Regions from separate parts of the Homo sapiens genome. Here region 2 is linked to region 1. The links are contacts of gene promoters, found by promoter capture Hi-C in blood cells and fetal thymus (Javierre and others, 2016). All regions are on one chromosome and are shown on one strand. Each heading gives the region's core, a stretch centred on a gene start or on the middle of the fragment in contact. The rest is flanking DNA. Distances are from core to core; before and after follow the strand shown.

Region 1 (7,084 bases), core at 3,162-5,661:
TTTTCACATACAAGTCTTCCACATCTTTAGTCAGATTTATCCCTGAGTATTTCATATTTTTGATACCATCAAATTTTAAATTTCAATTTCTGATTGTTGCTAGTACAGAGAAACACAATTGGCTTTTGCATATCCACCTGATTCCTACAACCTTGCTAAACTCACTTATCAGTTCTAGTAGCTTTTCTGTACATTCCACAGGATTTTCTATAATAGTTGATCACACAGTGTGCAAATAAAGACGGTTTTCCAAACTAGATGCTTTTTTTTTAAATGGTCTTATTATACCGGCCTTATATTCAACATTCTAGTACAGTGTTGAATAGAAGTGGTGAGAATGAATATCCTTACCTCATTCCTGATTTTAGAGGAAAAGCATTCAGACTCTTACCACTAAGCACAATTTAGCTCTAGATTTTCATAGATGCCCTGTTTTAAGCTGAGGAATTTCCATTACTAGTTTCTGAGGGTTTTTAAAATCAGGAATTAATATTCGATTTTGTCAATGCTTTCTCCACATATATGATCATACAACTTTTCTTTGTTTAATATGGTGAACAATGTTACATTGATTTTTCAAATGTTAAGCCAGCATCTTTCTTGAAATAAACCTCACTTGATCATGATGTATTCTTCACATATATATACACACACATATATACATATACAGAATATACTTTTTATATAGATGTATTTTATACTTTTAAATCCACATATATGGATTTAATTCTCTAAAATTTTTTGTAAAATCTGTGTGTATGAGGAATACTGATTTAGTTTCCTTTTCTAGTTATGTCTTTCTTTCTTTAGTTCTGGTATCAGGTTAATGTTGACCTCAAAATGAGCTGGGAAATATTCCCTCCTCTTCAATTTTCCAGAAAAGTCTTTGTAGAATTGGCATTAATTCTTCCTTAAAGATGTAGAATCCACCAGTAAAACTATCTGGGCCTAGAGTTTCCTTTTGGGGAAGGCTTATAACAGCAAAATTCCCTTTCTTTAATTGATACAGGGCTATTCAGCTATTTCTTCTTAAGTGAACTTTGATAATACTTTGTATCTTTCAACTAATTTGTCCATTTCTGCTAAGTTGCCAAATGTATGAGCATGAAGTTGTTCATAATATATATACATTTTTTGAGATGGGGGTCTCACTCTGTTGCCTAGGCTGGAGTGCAGTGGCACAATCTCAGCTCTCTACAGCCTTAACGACCCAGACTCTGAGCCATTCTCCCACGTTAGCCTCCCGAGTAGCTGGGACCACAGGCACACACCACCACACTTAGCTAATTTTTGTATTTGTAGAGACAAGGTCTCATTATGTTACCCAGGCTGGTCTTGTATGCCTGAGCTCAAGCAATCCTCCTGCTTCAGCCTCCCAAAGTGCTGGGATTACAGGCATGAGCCACTGCACTCAGCCTATTCATAATATTTCTTAACCTTTTTTTAATGTCTGTAGAATCTATAGTCACGTAACCTCTCTCACTCCCGTTTTTTTGTTTGTTTGGTTAGTTGGTTGGTTTTGTTTTTTTTTTGTTTGTTTTTGTTTTTGTTTTTTTAAGATGGAGTCTCGCTCCGTCGCTCAGGCTAGAGAGTAGTGGCATAATCTCGGCTCACTGCAACCTCCGCCTCCCGGATTCAAGCGATTCTCCTGCCTCAGCCTCTCGAGCAGCTGGGATTACAAGCGTGTGCTACCACACCCAGCTAATATTTTTTTGTATTTTTAGTAGGGACGGGGTTTCACCATGTTGGCCAGGCTGGTCTCAAACTCCTGACCTCAAGTGATCTGCCTGCCTCGGCCTCCCAAAGTGCTAGGATTACAGGCGTGAGCCACCGCGCCTGGCCCTGTTATTTTTAATTTGTATCGTCTCCTTTTCTACCCCTAAAGGTTTATCAATTTTACAGTCTCCTCAAAGAACCAGTTTTGAGTTTCACTGACTTTCTGTATTTCTGTCTCACTGAATACCACTCTGATCTTTACCATCTCCTTTCTTCCACTCTTCTGAATTTCATTTGCTCCTCTTTTCCTAGTTTCTTAGGCTAGGAGCTGAAGCCATTCTTTTCTAGTAGAGGTGTTTGGTGCCATAAACTTCTAACTATTTCTTTAGCTGCATTCACAAATGATATGCTGTGTTTTCATTTTACTCAGTTTAAAATACTTTCTAATTTCTCTTTTGATTTATTTTTTGTGTGTTAGTCAATGACCAAATATTTGGGAATTTTCCAGATAGTTTTTGTTTTTTTGTTTTTTTTAACTACTGATTTCTAATATACTTCTGTTGTGGTCAAAGAACCATGTTATATGTCAGGGCCTGCGGAAAGTTTATCACGTGCTTCTCAGGAAAAGATCAGGCTGAAAAATCCCGCCGCTGAGAAAAAACAATATAAATAAAATGATAAGTCTACAGGCCAGCTAAAAGATAATTAGGAAATAACAACAAAAATTAATCTTAATACTAAAATATTTATGAATAAATTGATGTCTTGGATTTCCTTCAAAATAATCCAAGATGATAGGGAGTAGATAAGGGAAGAGATCAAACAAGACTGGCCAGGGAATGAATTGAAGCTAGATGACAGTTCATGGTGGTTCATTACACTATTTTACTTTTTTAAACATTTAAAATTTTTCCATAATAAATGGTTTTTAAAAATGCAATATTAACACTTCACTTCGTGAAACCTGAAAAAAAAGGGAAAAAATAGTAGTAGCTTAAACAATGTTCAAGAGAAAAGACTGCTAGCAGTACCCTCTATATGTGTGCAAAAAGCGTCTGCTTATAAATGAGACACAAATATACATATATATGGGATAAGTATGAGTCACCAGGGATTGCTAAAGAAAAGAGAGTGGGTTCAAACAAAATGAGCCAGTTGAAACAACTGCCCAGCAAAAAAGAACAGAATAACACTATGAATACACATATTCTGTTCCTGAGTGTCCCAAAAATCTCTCAATATATTTCAAATTTTTCTTCTAAGTTAATTTCATCTTTTTTCAAGGACACTACCTAGCACATTTTCCTAAGATGAAGCACCTCCTTCATAACCAGTACTATTTTCACAAATAAACTACTCTAGTAACTTTATCACACACTGCACTCTCAGTTTCAAGATGCAGTGATGAAAACAAAGCTTCCTTTTAATCTTACTTCTTTCATTACCAAGTATACAGTTTATTAAAAGAAATAATAATGTTGGAAAATTAAGGAAATGCACTAATTATGCATTATCATATCATAGCAGAAACCTTATGTGACAAAAATTTATAACATGCCTACCACATGCTTGGTGTTAGGGATACAGTAGTGAACAAATAGGCAAGGTCCCTAATGTTCTGAGTTTCCTGGGCATCTGAATACTCTCCCCTCCCCATTCTACAAATAAGGAAACCGAGATCCAGAGAGGTTAAATAATTTTTTTCCATGACTGCACATTTCATCAGAGGCAGAATTAGGGCAAAACAAGAACCCAGGCCTCCTGACTCTTAAGGGCAAGGTGTATTTACATAACTTGAACTGGCTTCAATTTACACTATATTCACAGGTCCACAAACTGTACAGCGCTCTATTCTAGGAAGTGTATTCTGAAGAATACTAATGATAAAGCATAATCAGTCTCAAGTTCCCTAAGTGAATAATAACTTCATTTATCATTATTATCACTCCAAAAGATGAAACCTTATATGTAAAAGGAACTTATTCTTGAAGACAGTGCCTAACCTAACCCATGGCTCATTACGTTGCCTGGCTAATAATATTCTATTGGAACAGCAGGTACTCAGTTTGGCATGGAATATGCATTACCTAGTACTATTCTTAAAATGAATGGGGAGGAACTCGATTTAAACGGAAAAATTAATGCAATTTTAATGAAATGTTTGTAAATAAGTAAAAGCTGTTCTGCCTCCAAAGCAGCTTAGATCCCGCGAGCGCAGGGTCACCCTAGCGTGTTCCCAAGCAGCAAGCAGCTGCTCTCCTCCAGCCCACGCTCTCTTCTCCAGCCCACGCTCTCTTCTCGCCCACTGCGGCCGCGCGGGGGAGTAGGGGGAAAGCGGGCCGGCGTCTCCCGCTCAATTTCAATTCTCCCACGCCCGCGGCAGCCCGGCGCGCCAGGCTTTCCACCCGCGCGCGACCTGGCACCTCCGTCACGCCGGGTGCCTGCTGTCGACCCTAGCCTGGCATGCCCGCGGCCGAGCAGCCCTCAGCCCCACCACGAGCGAGACGGGGGCAGGCCCCAGAAGTGTCCTCGGGCCCGGGGGCCGCAGCCAGGAGGAGAACGCGGGGCCGCAGCGCGGGGCCCGGGGTTAGAGACCCTGCAGCAGCCACACCCACCGGCTGCGGGGTGACAGCTACAGCGGTGGAGGCAGGCCGCGCCGACAGGTGCAGCCGCCTTCTCGGTCCCGCCCGGGTACCGGCTAGAGTTCCGCCACCCGCGAGCGCCCCCGCCCGCCCCCGCGCGCACCACCTGTCGGGGAGCTTCGCGCGCGGCCGGCGGCGGACGCCCCGCCCGGCTCGTGAGGAGCGGCCGGCGTGGGGCGGGGGGCCGAAGTCCCGGTGGGATGAGATCTTTACCGGAGGGTGGGCCCCACACAGGCGGTGTCGGTGCTCTCGATCTCCTGCAAGATCCGCTCGTGCTCGGGGACGGTGCCCAGACTCTCGCTGTTCTCCGCCATTTTGGCTGGAAGCTGAGGAGCCAGCGAGGCGCGGCGCCGCGGGAACGACGGGGGCGAGCTCCAAGTGGCGCGAGCGCGAAGGGGCGGGGCGGGGGCGGGGCGCTCGGGCCGGCGGCGCGGGGGCGCGCGGAACGCCGGGCAGAAGGCGCGCGACCCGGTTCCCGCCCCCGCACCTGCAGGAGTGAGCGGGGGCTGTGAGCTGGGGCTACGGGCGGCGGCCGGGTACCCAGCTGGCCTCCTGCCCTCTCTCGCGACTAGTCCCTCCTGGGCGTCTTGTGCCTGGCCTTTGGGCTTTAACATATCTCCTTGTCTTCTGTGTGTGCCACACCCTGTGCCACACGCGGGGGTACCGTAGTAATCAGCAAGGTGGACACTCAGATCATCACCCTGAATCTGTAATAAGAGCCACGGGGACATTTAACAAGGGCCTGATGTACTCTGGGTCGTGGGGAGTCAGAGAAAGGAAAACATGCACTCACGAAAAGCAAAATTGCATGTGATAGTAAGATTTATTTTAGGAACGAATAAAGATCCCAGTTGACCATGAAGACCGCTCCAGGTGGATTCATGTCCCCGCCTGCAAGAAGTCCACAGCGGCCAGTCAACTTGGAAATAAATTATAAGCGACATAAAAAATTAAATGATGAGAAGTTAAGACACTTGATGGCAGAGATACCAAAAAAAAAAAAAAAAAAAAAGGCCCAGGGCGATGTGTAATTCATACCAAAGTCCGTGAACTCAGGTGCCCCCAGGTCAGAGTAGCTGGGTTGAGAAGGGGTGAGAGCTCTTGAAAGGGGGTTAGCAGCAGGGAGGTGGGAGAGAGAGGCAGGGAGGCTTGGACAAAGGTATCAGTGTAGAAAAAAGTCGTGCTTAATGACATGTTTGTGGGACACTGAGTAAACCAGTTTGTCATGATCAAAGCAGGGAGGAAGGAAGACTAAACAGGAACAGAATGGAAACCTAGCCTGAGGAACAACTACTTTCTGCTCTACATTAATCCAGGGCTTTGAAAAGCTTCCCTTTGAGTCAACCAAGCTCTTTATCCAGCTGTGTAACTCACTCACCCTTAGTGAGCTTTTACTTGAAACCTACCTCCAGCCTCCTCCCCACAAACATCCTGGGAGGTGGTATTGTGCAATAGTTAGAGCATGAGCTCTGAAGACCAGTGTCCGAAGACATTAATTCTTGGATTAATATCACTTGACAGCTGTGTGACATTGGGCAAGAACCTAGTTCTTTTATATGTCAGTTAAATGACTGTAAATGACAATGGCAGTGTCTGCCTCATATTGCTGTCCCATGGTGTATGAGTTTTCCATTGTTGCTTTAACAAATCACCACAAATTGAGTAGCTTAAAATGACTCAGACATATTATCTTACAGTTCTGTACGTTAGAAGTCTGTCACAGGTCTCACTGGGCTAAAAATCAAGGTGTCAGCATGTCTGTGTTCCTTGCTAGAGACTCTGCGGGAGAATTTGTTTCTTTGCCTTTTCCAGCTTCTAGAGGCCACCCACATACCTTGGCTTGTGGCCCCCTTCCTCCATCTTCAAAGCTAGCAGCATTACATCTCTCTGACCATTCTTCTGTGGTCACATCTTCCTCTGACTCTGACTTAGGCTGGAAAAGATGCTCAGTTTTTAAGGACCCATATGATTAGAGTGGACCCAACCATTTAATCCAGGATAATCTTCCATCTCAGGGTCCTTAACCTTAATCACATATGCAATACCCCCTTTGTCATGTAAAAATAACATATGCACAGGTTCCAGGGATTAGAATGTGAGCATCAGTGGGACCCACTGCCTACCAAACTTAGGAAGGGCCCTATAAAACATTGCTAATGCCCTCCTTCCTATTAATCTGGAATCTTCAGAGCAATGGATTCCAGCTATACACATCCATTGAGCTAAGACAGTCTTCCATTTCCTGCAGAGAGACCTAGCTTTTCATTCTTTTTGTGGGAGGGGATAAAATTTGTCTTCTTTTTTTTATGTTTCAGTTTCAATTTTCAAAAGGTTATTTTCCCCTCTCAAGAACTTCTTAGGTCGAGCACAGTGGCTCACACCTATAATCCCAGAGCTTTGGGAGGCTGAGGCAGGAGGATTGCTTGAGCCCAGGAGTTCGAGGCTGCGGTGAACTATGATAATGAGCAAAATGAGGAGAGCAGGGCATGTGGCACAGGCCAGTTTCCTATTTGACCAATGTCTCCAGCTGGGGAATTACTTTCCTGATCATTCCTTCCCTAGAACTCTACCCCTTTTCTTCACCAGTCCTGATACCTTTTATTCCAAAGCTGGCTCCAAGTGCCCCTGCTCTGGGAAACCAGCCCTGCTTAGGCACTCCTCAGGCCAGCCCTGTTTCAACACCTGCCCATAGAGATTACTTCAACATAAGCAGCAGTATCTTCCCC
Region 2 (7,084 bases), core at 3,423-5,922, 1.4 Mb after region 1:
TGAGCTACAAAGCTCTTTTCTTCACTTTCTCCCTCCTCTAGTTTAACTATACACTACCACTGATTTCATTATGTTGTTCCTCTGTTTCAGAAATTGCAATAGCTTCCCACTAACCGCAGGGGGAAAAAAAAACTGTCTAAGCTTTTCTGCCTAGTGATCTGGCTCCAGCCCCCATGCAATCTTTCTCACCTCCCACAAGTTCCCAGCATGCTTCCACTGGGCTCGCTTTATTACTCACTAATTTTTCCTTTTAAGCCTTGCTCATGCTGTTTTCGTCACTGGATTACTTTGCCCACTTTCTTCTGCCTATCCAAATCCTATCATTTTTCAATGGCCAGCCAGCTTAAATAATTACCTTTACTTCAAGGCCTTTCTTCACAGTTCTGCACACAGTGATCTCCTTTCTCTCATCTCTGATAGTACAAATTGTTTCTATGGCTCATTGTGGTTTTTACATATTGCTTTGCTTTTCATGTGTTAACCCTGCATACCCTGAGGCAGAGACCATTTTTTAAAACCTTGTCTTTTTGCATTTTTTGTAGCACCTAGCACAAAGCTAAACATAACAGATGTTCAATAATTGGTAGTTACATTTTGTCCCAGGGACTCCATCAACCCCATTTATACACAACTGATAAGCCAACTTCTCATTCTTGTTACTAAACTTTCCATCAAATTCTCTCGACACACCTTATGCTCACCCTCAAACTCTTCCCCTTGTCTTCCATTATAGGCTAACATCCCTTTAAAATTCTCAACTAAATTCCTCCCATTTCTCTTCACCTCTCTGACCTAAGTCAAATCTAGCTCTTTCTTGAACCCAATGTACTGGTACCCTATCCAGAGGGTTCTACCCCATGTAGAACCTCTCTTTTCTGTTCACCTGATTAGGTGTAGAAGTAGCCAGTCAAATTCATCCTCGCTGCCACTGTTATTTCTGCCCCACCTCTAAGCATTTTCTTCTTTCTCATTCACCACTTTTTTAAACATGTGTAATACATCAGTAACTAATTTATAATATTCCACTCCAATCCATCAACCTCAGTAAATTTAATATTCACATCATCAGCCCTTCATATCCATACATTACTTCAAATTCTTTATTCTGTTTGACTCCATGGATTTGCATCACCTCTCCACAGCAGCAAGGCCAAGACCCAAACACTGAAAGTCTCTGAGGGCTCCATCTTGAGCCTCTTGAGAATCTCTAACTGGAACCACTGCCACTGCCATTTCTTTCAATTCCCCACCACGCCTGATTTCTACTGTCTCTTGTTCACTTCATCCATACCTGTCACAAGTCCATTTCAAACGCTGCTCCACAAACTAAGTAGATTTGGGAGATGGTAATTAAAAAATACAGATTCCTACACCTTGCCCATGGAGCTTTTGATTCAGTATATAGAGTGTCAAGTTTCAATCTTGGTATACCCAGGGAATTAAATTTAAAAAAGATGCCTGAGCAACATCCCCAGAAATTCTGATTTAACAATACTGCATTTGGGCCTGGATAATGATGGCTTTAAAAGTTTCTCAGTTAATTCTACTGTGCATCTAAGGTTGAAAACAGGTGCTCTAGGGTGAGATGTAGGAATGAGGACTTTAATATGCTACCAAGGTAACTCTGTGGTCAGTCAGGCTTGAAACCACTGTGTTAGGCACCTCCTCACTAGCTGGAATGGACTTCCTTCACGTTTAGATGGTCTTAGGATAAAACACTTCAGGGCTGCCCTTTCCAGCATTCTTTCTCCCACCCCTGTACCTTTCTGTAAACATAAAGGATACAGCCTAACTCTTCAACCTTATTTAGGGTCACTGTAAACTGACCTTCTACTTATTGATAATATTTATATTATTTTATTCATATATATTCATTTATAAATGTGGTACAATGATTTTCTGAAAAAGCCACTATTGTAGGGTCACGAATTGAGTCATAGACACAAACTAGACAGGCAGAACCATTAGGCTGGGGCAAAAAGGAACAATCACTGGAATGTCTCAAAGAAAAAGTTATTGATGACAATTAGGTTCCTAAGCAAACCTCTAGGAGCTCTATTTAATCTACAGGAGGCTGAAAAACAACTCAAGAGGCCACAAGCTGTATTTCCCTGCCCACCTACCTCACACATCAAGACCTCCTCCCCCTCCCCACACATACCAAGGCCTTCCTAGCTGCTGTAAAAGTCAATCACCACCCCAGTTCTCCTGGATTTCTTATCCTTTGGATGGACTAAGGACCAAGCATAGATTTTCTACACTTAAGCTTTTCACTGCTATTAGCTCTGAATTCTAGCTTTGAAGTCTCTCTTTGACAAATACACACACACACACACACACACACACATTCTGCCACAGATCCTGTCATAAATTGTTTTTTTTTTTAAAAAATAAATAATCAATGGTACTGACTCTGAAAGACTTTATAAGGCACAAGCAAGGCTGAGGCAGGAGAATGGCTTGAACACGAGAGGCAGAGATTGCAGTGAGCCGAGATCAGGCTACTGCACTTCAGCCTGGCGACAGAGCAAGACTCCGTCTCAAAAAGAAAAAAAAAAAACCCTCAAGTTTTGTATATTTATCCTTATCCTCTTCTATTCCAACTCATACCTTTTCAAAGTTTAATTCAAGATTTAAATTTTTTTCTTGAATATATTCTTCTCTTTGTCTAGTAGTACAAGTCCATAATCCTCTATTTACAATTTCAAAGTCCTATAAATTCTTGAAACTGAAGTGTCTTTGCAACTCATTTGGTGGCAAAAACATGCACCTAATCTGAAATGACATGACGCTACTGACTTTTTCCCTTTAGCATGAACACATAATTTCATTACAGTTATTAAGATGGTTGATTAGAGAGAACTGGCTAGGACCTTACTGTGGGTATTAAATAATATATGATATATGTACCGAATTACCTTTCTAAAATCTGAAAAACTTGAAATCCCAAAGCAGACTGTAGACTTGTATCCACACTTGCAAATTCCAAAACGGCAATTTTTCAGTTATGAGATGAATAGGTTTTTGGGAGAGCGTTTGCTTGAGGACCTAAACCCACTCATTTAACTGTTTCTATAAGTACATACATTTACTGTTTTAAACAACCAACTTAGAAATGAACTGCTGGAATTCTGTGAGTTAAAGACTTCCTATATAAAATCTGAAAACCTAGGGTACCAGCAGCAGGAACCAGGTCTCCAAGCAGCTGGGTGACAAATTCCTTCAAAGCATTTTCTAGGGTAATCCCTAACCCCAGCTCCAATCTACCAATCAATTGTAGCTACGCTTTTAAACGTGTATCATTACTGTTCGCAATTTGCTGCATTGATTTAAAGAGCTTGTTTTAACAATTTCCAGTTATCAGGGCCCTCAGACATTTTTGAAAAACCTACCGAATCCGAAAATTATTCCTAACACCAATACAGTACTTAACGAAGAGTGAGCTATTTTAGTAAGTTCTTAGTCATTTAAGAGGGAGGTTTTAAGAAATGAACCGCAAGTAGGAATAAAGAAAATGTATAATGTTCACTAAACTTTTACTATTTTGTCACACACAGCTGCATGACAAGTCATGATCTTTAAATATATCAAAGCAAACTTTCAAAAAGTACTTAAATATTATGTCAAAATAAAAAATTGCAAAATCCGAGGTTTTTTTTTAAATTGTGCTTCAAATTAACCAGTCACAACCACCAGTAAAAATAGGGAAAGAGGGGGAGGGGGCTGTCCCATGACATCATCTGGCAATATGTAGTTTGAAGCCTGACAGCGCTCTCCAAATAACCCTTACGAAGATACAGCTGGGAAATCATCCCTGTCAAGCTTAGATAACTTGGGTTTAAATAAAAGGTTCAAAAAGCCTCCCCCCACCTGAGTCACATGTCTGTACCATATGAAAAATAAAACCATCACTGATGCATCTACCTCCCACTACACTGACAGCAACGGAAAGGTCACAATTAAGTGGAAACTCGCCGCAGAGCCTGTTTAATCTGAAGGGGGAAGGGAAAGAAAAGCGAAGAAAAGGACAAAAATCTGCGCGCCTCCAAGGCAGGCAGGCAGGCAGGCACCTCCGTGGAAAACCCACTCCCGCCTGCTGACACCTATGCTCATCCAACAGATCATGCCGACTCAAGATGCAGGTCATTCTCTTAGAGAAAGTGGGGGCCCAAGCCCCAGAAAATAACCCAAACATCCAGCGGAACCGACCACCCCCAACATTTCCCGAGGGTGGTAGGTGTACCTCGCGAAGTGTTCGGGGCTGTCCACGAGGCACAACTCTTTTATTTCTGCCCAAGGAAGGGCGGCCTGAGTGCGTCTCCCTGGAGTGCCAGGGCGTGCCCAGGGTAAACGCAGGCCTCCTGACGGCCCTCGCCCGGCCGCCGTCCCTCCCAACTCCCGCCGTCCGGGGCGCCAGACGGCCCCGGCCCACCACCTACCGCGGTCGCGCCGGCGCCCGCCGATACGATGGGCGGCAGCTTCTCGCGCTCTGACTCCTTCCCTTTCCTCTCCTCAGGCGCGGGCGCCGCCACCACCAGCGGAGTGGCGGGCGAGGGTACCCGAACCGCCTCACTCATGTCGGGCCGGGCGGCGGGAGCGCCAGGCGGCGGCGGCGGCCTCAGTGTTGCTGGGGCTGGCGCTGCTGCTGCCGCCGCGGCCGCGAGAGGGCTCTGGGCTGCCGCTTCTAGCCGCCGCTGCCGCCGCCACTCCGCCCCCGCCCGCGCCCGCGCCTTTGCGCGCGAGCCCGAGGCCGCCCCCGCGCGCGCCAGCCCCGCGGACGCGGCTCCCCACAGGTCCCACAGGTTTCTTGCTCTCGCCTCCCCCGCCCGCCCGGGGCTCGCGCGTCGCGGGTCGGGAGCGCCGGCGGTAGTCCCCCTCGTCAACCCCGAGGGCCCGGAGAGAAGGCGCCACGGTCGACGCCCGACCGCCATATTGTTTGCAGAGTGTCGCCCGAGATGACGAGGAGACCCCGCACCCGGGCCGCGCAGGAGAACCTGGACTAAGGACGGGCAGTCGGGGAGACAAGTCGAGCCCTGCAAAGGGTCGGACGGGGATAGAGTGTCCGAGTGGTACCAGTAGGGCAGGACGTAGGCACAGACTACCCTTCACGGACGGCCCTGGCCTGCGGCGCCGAGTCCCGCGGGCAAGCGCCCTCGGGGTCTGGGCTGGTGGCCTTTCGCCTTCTTCCAGGCGCCCACAAAGCTGTCCGCCTTGGGGCTTCTGCCTTCTTATCCTTGCCCGCCCTCCTGAGCCCAGGAGAGGCGGCCCGGAGCTTGCGCAGCCCGGGGAGACAGCCTTCCTGGCTCAGCAACCGACTCTTTTGTACACGCCTGGATGGCTTCAGCCTACACAGGAAAAGCCTGGAGGTGGGGAGGAGTGCGACGTGGTGGGCCCCCCCTTTCCCCTTCCCCCATAGGATTGGACGGCCAGTCCACACTTTCCATTCCTGTTCCTCTCGTCCCTCTTTGACTGCCAAATCCGCCTCTCCCTTCCCGTCCCCACGCGCCTACGTTTTGCTCTCTCCCCGCAACCCTTTGCTGTCTCCTATCCGTCCCTTCCTTGTTCCTTTCCGTTTATGTTAGAGATGTACATACCCAAACTCTGCTGCACAGTCCTCAATCAAATCATTACAAATAGGAGTAAAAACTTGAAAGCCGAAGAAGAGAGCTTTTAATTATGAAATTAAAATACCCCCCACCTCCACCACCAGGACACCTAGACAATTTCCTTTCCTTTCTTGTCGCCCCCTCCTTTTCCTTTTTCTCAGTCTACTGGAGCGGCGGGGACACCTGCTGATCTAGGAGAAAAGAGAGTAAGAATGCGCTGTATCGCCTGTTAAAAGCAAGGAATTTCGATATTCAGCTCTATCAGATTTTTTATCTGTGCCTTCATTATTTTATTGGAGGTTGAGTGAATTTTTAGATCAAGAGTACCTAAGTCCAAATATAAGAACCAAAAATATCTCTGAAACAAACCCAAATATGATTTCGGGGTATCTATTGTTTACATAATTTGGAGTTATTAGTATAACTAAATACTAGTTATGGTGCATCATGAGATAAGGTTGCATGTTTTCAAACCCACAATTTGTAACAAGTAGATCTGAAGCAAACAATGTTGCCTTCTAAATTTTGAATTCTGACTTTCATTTATAGAAAGGCTTTCTACTTTAATATAGTTGCTGTTGCCACCTATTTACTTGTTAATTAACAAAAGGTATAGAATAAGTGCCATATAGTCAGCAAAAAGTATTTCAGTGCTAATAGCCTTGGAGGGAAAATGATGTATGTCGGCATTACTTTGAAGCATCCTCCTCCTTTCTATTAATATTTTTCTAAATTCTTTTTCAGGATTTTCTTTCCTTAAAACTACTGAAATACTCATCCCATAGAGAGGAACATAACATTATTTTCTGCTTTTAGCAGGTCTGTATGCTGATCATGGATACAGGAACAACTCAAATGTTATTTTATAAAATGAAGCCTTTATTTTAGCTGCAATTTCAGATATTCTGTGCTAAGTCTAGGTTGATAGAACAAATACTAGAGGGAAAAGTATCCTCTTTCCTATTGTTTTCAACTAGATTTAGTAATTTGCTATAAAAATGTTTGGATGAGAAACCACTTGGATAACAGGCCTTCTGCTTTCTTTTTTCATGTGTGAGACTAAATAAAAGTGTGTCTGTACATGTAGTCACATTCAATAGAACAAACTGCTTAAATATTGGCAAAACAAGGCAAGTCAAAAATGTTAATTTCTGCTACTGCACCAGAGTAGATAACCCATTTCTTAACAAATTCTCTGATTAATTAGCTTGTGAGTTCCATGTAAAAAATGATAATTTGTTCATGTTTCCTTTGACTTCTTATTAAATAAATGTCCTCAATCCACCACCTCATCCCTCCCTCATACATAGTCCAGGAGGGGGCTGGAGAATGGGAATGGGGCCTGCTGGAAAGCTGTAGAATTATAGCTCTGGGGGAACTCGTGGTGTGCTTGAGAGACACATTCCCAACTGCCATCAGTGTGCTTCTGGAGACCCAGGTGGGAGAAGAGAGTGTTGTAAAGCAGGACATACAGAGAG

The links. The method cuts DNA at HindIII sites, captures the fragments that hold promoters and counts their contacts. A CHiCAGO score of 5 or more calls a contact.
Region 2: the fragment with the promoter of HECTD2 here is called in contact with a fragment that was not itself captured in region 1 in 7 of 17 cell types (non-activated CD4 T cells, total CD4 T cells, naive CD8 T cells and 4 more); the score reaches 12.8 in non-activated CD4 T cells.

What each region holds. Positions count from the first base shown.
Region 1 is chr10:92,846,122-92,853,205 of GRCh38, reverse strand. It overlaps EXOC6 (exocyst complex component 6), which reads right to left and starts at 4,686. Exons shown (of 22, transcript NM_019053.6): 1 at 4,572-4,686. The coding sequence starts at 4,672. RefSeq lists silencers at 4,240-4,579, 4,720-4,869. The HindIII fragment of the contact is 2,554 bases long and covers 3,135-5,688 here.
Region 2 is chr10:91,407,932-91,415,015 of GRCh38, reverse strand. HECTD2 (HECT domain E3 ubiquitin protein ligase 2) reads right to left here and starts at 4,672. Exons shown (of 21, transcript NM_182765.6): 1 at 4,440-4,672. The coding sequence starts at 4,577. All of the region lies in intron 3 of HECTD2-AS1 (HECTD2 antisense RNA 1), which reads left to right. RefSeq lists a silencer at 4,316-4,905 and an enhancer at 5,056-5,265. The HindIII fragment of the contact is 4,522 bases long and covers 3,825-7,084 here.